3 separate regions of the Homo sapiens genome follow, and all the other regions are linked to region 3. Evidence: promoter capture Hi-C in 16 types of primary human blood cells and fetal thymus (Javierre and others, 2016). All regions are on one chromosome and are shown on one strand. The core of a region is centred on a gene start or on the middle of the fragment in contact, and the rest is flanking DNA. Distances in the headings are between cores, read along the strand shown. Region 1 has its middle 17 kb from the start of LINC01925. Region 2 has its middle 22 kb from the start of CETN1. Region 3 holds the start of THOC1 (THO complex subunit 1).

What was found. The method cuts DNA at HindIII sites, captures the fragments that hold promoters and counts their contacts. A CHiCAGO score of 5 or more calls a contact.
Region 1: a contact is called between a fragment that was not itself captured here and the fragment with the promoter of THOC1 in region 3, in 1 of 17 cell types (M2 macrophages). The highest score is 5.1, in M2 macrophages.
Region 2: a fragment that was not itself captured here is called in contact with the fragment with the promoter of THOC1 in region 3 in 1 of 17 cell types (monocytes); the score reaches 5.1 in monocytes.

The regions. Positions count from the first base shown.
Region 1 is chr18:530,505-533,224 of GRCh38, forward strand. No RefSeq gene overlaps it. Among named protein-coding and RNA genes, the nearest start is that of LINC01925, 17 kb to the left of the region's middle. The HindIII fragment of the contact is 6,978 bases long and covers 1-2,720 here.
Region 2 is chr18:556,662-559,361 of GRCh38, forward strand. No RefSeq gene overlaps it. Among named protein-coding and RNA genes, the nearest start is that of CETN1, 22 kb to the right of the region's middle. The HindIII fragment of the contact is 5,540 bases long and covers 1-2,700 here.
Region 3 is chr18:266,718-269,485 of GRCh38, forward strand. It overlaps THOC1 (THO complex subunit 1), which reads right to left and starts at 1,330. Exons shown (of 21, transcript NM_005131.3): 1 at 1,249-1,330. The coding sequence starts at 1,302. RefSeq lists an enhancer at 1,199-1,668 and a silencer at 2,059-2,238. The HindIII fragment of the contact is 5,170 bases long and covers 1-2,768 here.

The DNA.
Region 1 (2,720 bases), core at 109-2,608, 260 kb after region 3:
TACCAGGGAATATTATTCAGCCTTAAAAAGGAAGAAAATTCTGAGATATTTTACAACATGGGTGAACTCTGAGAACATTATTCTAAGCAATAAAGCCAGTCACAGAAAGACAAATACTATATGGTTCCATTTACAGAAGGTACCTAGAGTCATCAAACTCATAGAGACAGGAAGTGGAATGGTTGCCAGGGACTAGGGCGAGGAGGAGAGAGTGTGGAGTTAGTGTTTAATGGGCACAGAGTTGCAATTTTACAAGATGAAGAGCTGTGGCGATGGATTGCGGTGATGGCTGCACGTCATGAGTGTATTTAATACCACTGAACAGTACACTTAAAAAAGGTTAAAGCTGAATGTAGTGCTGCTCGCCAGTAGCTCTAGCTACTTGGGAGGCTGAGGCAGGAGAATTGCTTGAGCCCAGAGGTTTGAGGCTGCAGTGAGCTATGATTGTGCCACTGCACTTTAGTCTGGGTGACAGAGCAAGACCCTGTCTCAAAACAAAAACAAACAAACAAAAAATCACACCACTGCACTCCAGCCTGGTGACAGAGTGAGATTCTGCCTCAAAAAACAAAACAAAACAAAAAAAAGGTAAGATAATAAATTTTATGTGTCTCTCACGGTAAAAAAAAATTTAAGACAAAAAGAATATACTGGGAGTCATGCTGCTTGCTGGCTTGGCCTTGAGCAAACCGAAGGCTGTAGGCAAGTCCCCCAACCTCTCTGGACTTCCAAATCCTCCCTTGAAAAGCAAGGTCCTCCCCAGCACTTAATCCTGGGAGCTATTCCTCCAGGATCTCCAGCTTTCTCCCTTTTAAAAATGGAAAGGACCTCCCTAGAGTGATATGTTTTGTAAATTTAATTTTGGGACTTTATTTCTTTTCTCAGAACATGTGTCTTAGAAGATGAAACAGAGAACTAAGTTAACTGTCCAAAATGATTCAGACCAAAAAGAAGTGCTGATAAGGCCAGGTGCAGTGGCTCACACCTGTAATCCTAGCACTTTGGAAGACCGAGGCAGGGGAATCGCTTGAGCCCAGGATTTCGAGACCAGCATGGGCAACATGGCAAACCCTGTCTCTACAAAAAAATACAAAAACTAGCCGGGCATGGTGGTGCATACCTGTGGTCCCAGCTTCTTAGGAGGCTGAGGTGGGAGGATCGCTTGAGCCCAGGAGGTTGAGGTTGCCATGAGCAATGACTGCACCACTGCACTCTAGCTTGGGTGACAGAGCGAGACTCTGTCTCAATTAAAATAATAATAACAAAAAAATGCTAAGAAGTCAAATTTTTAGCCTTGCCTGACATATCTGACCTCCCTTGACCAAATAATGCAATCTCTGTTGTCCTACTGTCTTGCCTGGAGGACTGAGCTAGATGCAATCAGGTCTTCTGGTGTCCAGATGGTCATTGTAACACAATGTCTCTGGCAACCACAAGGAGAAAAATACAACCTTTGAAGCTGAGTCCCAGAAGACAGAATCTTAATTGAGAACAGTAGAAAGAAATCCATTTCAATAGAAAATTATCCATAGTTTAATGTGGATTTGTCTGTAATTACTCCCAAGGAATTCTTCACTTATCAAAGTCATTGTGCCTAAATTAGATAAGTCATTTTTCTCAGAGAAACAAGTTGAGAAAGCAGAAGACCACACCCAAATCAGGAATACTTGGCACAGCAGAAGCAGCGTGGGGTGGGGCTGGGGATGGAGGCAGGTGAGTCTGATGATTCACTCACGACCAGAGCAGGGCTTGTCAAAGCATCGACATCCGCCCTGTCCCTGGGCTCCTGTTTCCTCAGAGCACATAATCAGGGGCCTTCAGTTCCAGGTGGTCTGTTTTCCCAATCTACAATGCCTGTTGTAACATCTTATCCCTCTTCCTCTTTCCAATTTCCTCTCCCCTTCCTCTTGACCATTTCCCCTTCTCCTCTCTCCTCCTCCCCAGTAACCCCTCTGCATAAGCACGCTCACATATAGTTCCATAAAGCCAAATCCAAGACTCAATCTTTTATTATATGAGAAAACTAAAAACAAGAGTGAAACATCAGAGATTATTTTCCAACATAATAGAATTTTCATATCAGAAGTATATCTAGCAAATCCCTACGCAAATCTCTGCGTTTGACCATTGAGTCAACAGGCCTGAGGAGCTTTTGTGATTGTCTCCAGTTGATATACAACTAAAGTAGGAATTAAAACCAGGGCTCCCAATACCCAGACATTCTCCACCACCATCTGATGACAGTAACACCTTAGACATGTATAAAGTCTGCACTGTAGAAGCACACTTTCCCATATGGGACTCAGCCTAGGCATTAGGCCAGCTGGCTATGTATGACTCCTATTATTACTTATACAAACAATAAGGCTAAGAAAGTGAGTGTCTTCCATTGGGCCACCTGTCTATTAAGTGGCAGAGGCAGGGCTTGAACTCTGGAGTCTTGGGCCAACTGCTGTCTTCCATTGCATGCTCACACTTGTATTTTAGGGTCAAAGGTGCACACACAAATTTATGCATGGCAACAGAAATGATCTGGTTCAAGTAATAAACTCCTAAGTGTGAAGTTAATGCCATAAAATGATTCTGGGAGAGTCTATTTGCTCAGATGGTGCTTCCTGGCTCAGCCTGGAAGCATCATGGCCAGTCTGGATACATTCACCCAAAGTCTCCTCTTAAATTTAGTACTCTGTCTTTAGGGCCTAAGTATTTCATCTGTTTTA
Region 2 (2,700 bases), core at 47-2,546, 290 kb after region 3:
TTAATTATTTAAATACCTTCACAGCAAGAGCTTACGGTGGGTTGGTTTCTATAAGTATTACTGGCGTCTCACTGCAGGTAACTGTGTAACTGTCAAAGCCACTGATTAAACAACCTGGCATGAGGCAAAGTATCAGCATGAGGATGTGTATCCCACATATAAACATGCAGCGCCGTCTTAATTGTATATTTTTAAATAACTTAAAGAATGTCACTGGATTGCTTGTAACTCAAAAGATAAATGTGTAAGGGGTGGATGCTCCATTCCCCATGACGTGCTTGTTTCACACTGCATGCCTGTATCAAAACATCTCATATACCCCATAAATATATACACCATGTACCCACAAACATTTTTTAAATAATTTAAAAAAATTTTTTAAAGTGCTGCATGCAATATTAACAGCCATCTGTTTGCTATACTTTATTCACTTTCACCTCTGAGTAAACTGAAGTATTATTATATCCTAAACCACCACAGACTTCCAGGGTTCAGGTAGGAGGAATGCAATTCAGCCACAGACCTCTGCTGGCTTTTTATCTTTTAAAAGATAGTTAAAGAATAACATCTGCAGGGCATGGTGGCTCACACCTGTAATCCTGGCACTTTGGGAGGCCGAGGCAGGTGGATCACTTGAGGTCAGGAGCTCGAGACCAGCCTGGCCAACATGGTGAAACCCTGTCTCCACTAAAAATGCAAAAATGAGCCGGGCATGGTGGCGGGTGCCTGTAATCTCAGCAACTCGGGAGGCTGAGGCAGGAGAATTGCTGGAACCCAGGAGGCAGAGGTTGCAGTGAGCCAAGATCGCACCATTGCACTCCAGCCCAGGTCGACAACAGCGAGACTTAGTCAAAAAAAAAAAAAAGAATAACATCAAAGACAAAGGATTATTTTCCAATCCATAGGCAATTAGGAGTAGCCTTGAGAATTTATGAAAATAGAATTCTCTATTTCTTCTATCCCTTGGGAAAACATTTTCACATATAGAGAGGTAATTGCTATCCCTGGAATCTTTTCTGACTGCTCTTGTTCAAAATGAGCACTGAAAAGGCTTTAAATGAGGTCAAAGTGGAACTGGCCAAAACCACTAAGTATTCTTTTTAACTTAGACAGCTAGATAAGAATACACAGAATTCTTCCCTCTCCTCTTTTCTCCTTTTCTTCCCTCCTATTGTCTTTTTTTTCTTTTTTTCCAAAAAAATTTAACAACACCTACTCTGTACAAACATTATACTAGACACTTGGGATACAGAGATAAATAAGAAGTGGTCCCACATGTCAGATCACCAACTATGGAAGTCAAAAAACTTAGGTCGTTCATTTGTTCATTCATTCATACAAATAGTACCTATTGAGCACCTACTGTGTACTGTGTGTAACCTACACTGTGGTCACAATAAAAAGCTCAGTTACCTAGGGATGTCAGTGAATGCTCATGCCACCTGGGCCAAAAATAAAGGGATGGTAGATGTTCAGGTTATCAATTTTCCCCCCTGCCTGTGTATTTCAAATATACGATAATAATAAAAACAATAAATGTGTTCAAATGATCCACTGTCTAAATCTTTGACATAAAAAATTATCACTAAGAGTAAATGGAATAAAATACCCATAAGGCACTAGGAGGTATCAGTTGAACTGAAACACAGTAAAATGACTTATGTCAAAGATAAGAAACTGGAGACTAGAGGATCCCTGCAGAGTATGTAAAGATATCTTTCCCTTATTATGTAACTTTCTTGCCTGAAAGATGTGCCTCACCTGTTAAAACACTTGTATCTGCCTACTTAGACTTGAAAAAAGATTATTTTTCAACTCTTCAAAATGGAGAATGTCAGTGTACTTTGAACCATTTGTCAAAAATATAAAAAAGCAGCATCCTCCCATCAGGGAAGATGAAAATTTTCTTTTCTTTTTTCTTTTTTTTTTTTTTTGAGGCGGAGTCTGTCGCCCAGGCTGGAGTGCAGTGGCGCAATCTCGGCTCACTGCAAGCTCCGCCTCCCGGGTTCACACCATTCTCCTGCCTCAGCCTCCCGAGTAGCTGGGATTACAGGCGCCCGCCACCACGCCCGGCTAATTTTTGAATTTTTAGTAGAGACAGGGTTTCACCATGTTAGCCAGGGTGGTCTCGATCTCCTGACCTCGTGATCCGCCTGCCTCGGCCTCCCAAAGTGCTGGGATTACAGGCGTGAGCCACGCACCCGGCCCAAACACCATTATTTGTAATGGTATATATATATATACACACATGCCATTATTCGTAATGGTATATACATATATACATGCCATTATTTGTAATGGTATATATATATATATATACATATATATACATGCCATTACATTATTTGTAATGGTATATATATATACACACACACACACACACACACACATATATATATATACACACCATTATTTGTAATGGTGTGTGTGTATATATATATATGTATATATACACACCATTATTTGTAATGATATATATATACACACCATTATTTGTAATGATATATATACACACCATTATTTGTAATGGTATATATATATGTATACACACACACACACACACACACACACCGTTATTTGTAATGGTATATATATATATACACCATTATTTGTAATGGTGTGTGTGTGTGTATATATACACATATATATGTGTGTGTGTGTGTATATATATATATATATATATATATATATACACACACA
Region 3 (2,768 bases), core at 80-2,579:
GTAGAGACGGGGCTTTGCCATGTTGGCCAGGCTGGCCTTGAACTCTTGACCTCAGGTGATCCGCCCGCCTCGGCCTCCCGAAGTACTGCATTTACAGGCGTGAGCCACTGCGCCCGGCCGCCAATATGATCTTGGATAGTCCTAACAGTTACTCTTAGCAGGCTTTCAAAGCACCAGAGATTGCAGCAAAACGCACACAAAGAAAATGATTATGATGACATACACAAAATATAATCCATTTAAAAAAAACCTCACACTGTGTGTGTGTGTATATATATATTATACGTATACGTATATATATGTATATATATATATATATAACCCTGCAAACAAGAAAACTACTTACTACAAAGGATGAATTTTTCTTTCACACAATTTTCATCCTGGCATCCCTATAACTACCAAAACACAGCCGAATATCTGAGAAATGTTGGTGCAAATGCTAGAGACGAATAGAGTCAGGCAACTTAAAAGTGTTCTTCATACTTACGTTGCTGTGACGAGCAACATAAAAAGAACAGAGTGTCTAAAGTCAGAAAAACCACTGAAGTCACAACTTTTTGGGGGGTGTCAGCTTCTACCTCATGTACCAGGAATAACCAACTTAGCCTACTTCACAGTGTTACTCTAATAGTTAAATGAGAAAGTGATCTGTCAAGTGTTTCCCAAATGCTCAAAACCACCCTTCCACATTGAGCAAGAATAAAATAGCATCTGGTTACCCTTCCCAAGGTGATCTATCTGCCTTTTCCCGCTTAGGATCTCATCGATCGCTTAGGAGTTAGACACGGTGGGTTAAGGGGTGGTGAAGAGACGGCGGGAACAAGCACTTGGTAGCTCAGAAGGCTAGGGCGGGAGCCAGGTCTTTGGACTGAAACCACTCCCACCCTCCCCCTTCAGCAGCTCCCCTTCCCCTTCTCGAGACACCTGCCCCACTAAACGAGCTGAGAGGATGGACCCAACCAGCAGTAGTCTGCAGGTGGGCACTCCAAGCGGGGAGCCGAGGCGCCCAGCACGCAGTCCGGGGACCCGCTGGAGGGTGGGCGGAGGCGGACGGCCCAGCCCACAAAGAAGAGGCGGGTAGTGCGTCTTTCCCTACCCCTCAACCTCCGACGGGGCCCGGAGCGGACGCTGAGGCGGACACACCTCTGTCTCACTTTACCCCAGGGCAAAATTCGAGTAATTTCAGGGAGAAGAGGACAAAGCATAGCGCCGGGTCAGGCCTGCACCCTCCCCTCTACAGCTCACCGTAAACCGCGTCCGCGCTTCGGGCAAACTGAAGAGCGGCGGCGTCGGAGACATCTTCTCGGCTGCGCGTGCCCGCCACTGCGCTGCGGCGCCTGCCGATGACGTCAAGCCAGGAGCAACGAGACTGCGGTCTCTCTGAGCCCGGCTAGAGTGGCCTGTGAACACCGGTCGGGCGAGCTGGCAGTTGGGAGTTTCCCTAGCGACTCAGTTCGGGTGGGCGTTGGGCGCCTGAGTCAGCCAAACAGCCTACTCGGGGTTCTTGGGTAGCCTTTGGGGTGAGGGGACTTGGGCGGCCTTGGTCTGTAAGCTCTGCGTTCCCGGGCGTGGAAGAGACTGGCCGCGCACATGCGTTTCTGTGGTTTTCCTGGTTTGGGGAAAGCGGGTAAATGGTGGCTGGTTGCGGCTAACTGGGCCGCGCTAAAAGGTAACCCAAGGCAGGTGGATTACCTGGGGAAACAGCTGGAGCAGTGGTCCTGGGCCGCCAGTCCGCGGTCATCCCGGGAGCTTAAGATGCGGAGTGGTGATAGGCTCCGGATGTATGAGCCCTGTGGCTCAAGGGCGCTGTTCTCTCTGCTCCGAAATAGAAATAATACCTGTCTCACAGAGCTGTTGAAAAGCTCCACTGAAATAATGACCGCAAGTGTGAACTGTAAAGCAATGTAAGTAGTATTTATTATTAAAAGGTCTCTACTGAAAGAAAGAGACCTAGGAGGAATGCAGTGCCCGGCGCTGATTGGAAAACGGGTGGCGCTGCGTCCTGGGCCGAGGCTTCCCTAGCGAAAACCTTGTCTCCCTCCATTTCGTCCCTTGCCTGCCTTCCCAGGAGAGACGTGGCCGATAGAAGCCGAGTGGCAGTAACTCTAAGTTGGAGTTACACGGTGGAGAAGGAAGCACTGACTCAGACTCGGGTAACTTCCTCTTATTCCCTCACACGTGTATCTTGTTCCCTTCTTCGAAGTCTGTAAATTTAAAATCCTAAGCCCCCCAACAACTGAACAGACCCCCGTGAGGCCAAGGGGACACCAGCAAAATCTTAACAACTGAGTTCCCAGTCATAACGGGATGGGAGGTCAGACGGACCTGGTTATACCCTCTCCCTTTTGTGATTTAGAGGAGATAGCTGACTGGCCATAAAGTTAAAATAGAGGCCAGGCGCGGTGGCTTACGCCTGTAATCCCAGCACTTTGGGACGCCGAAGCAGGTGGGTCACCTGAGGTCAGGAGTGGATCACCTGAGGTATGGCAAACATGGTGAAACGCTGTCTCTACTAAAAATACAAAAATTAGCCGGGCGTGGTGGCACGCACCTGTAATCCCAGCTACTCAGGAGGCCGAGGCAGGAGAATGGTTTGAACCCGGCAGGCGGAGGTTGCAGTGAGCGGAGATCGTGCCATTGCACTCCAGCCTGGGCGACAAGAGTGAAACTCTGTTTCAAAAAAAAAAACGGAGATGATAGGACTGACGGAATTGACTCCATGGCAATAAGATACCAAAGTATAAACAGGACCTAAGCCCATGCCA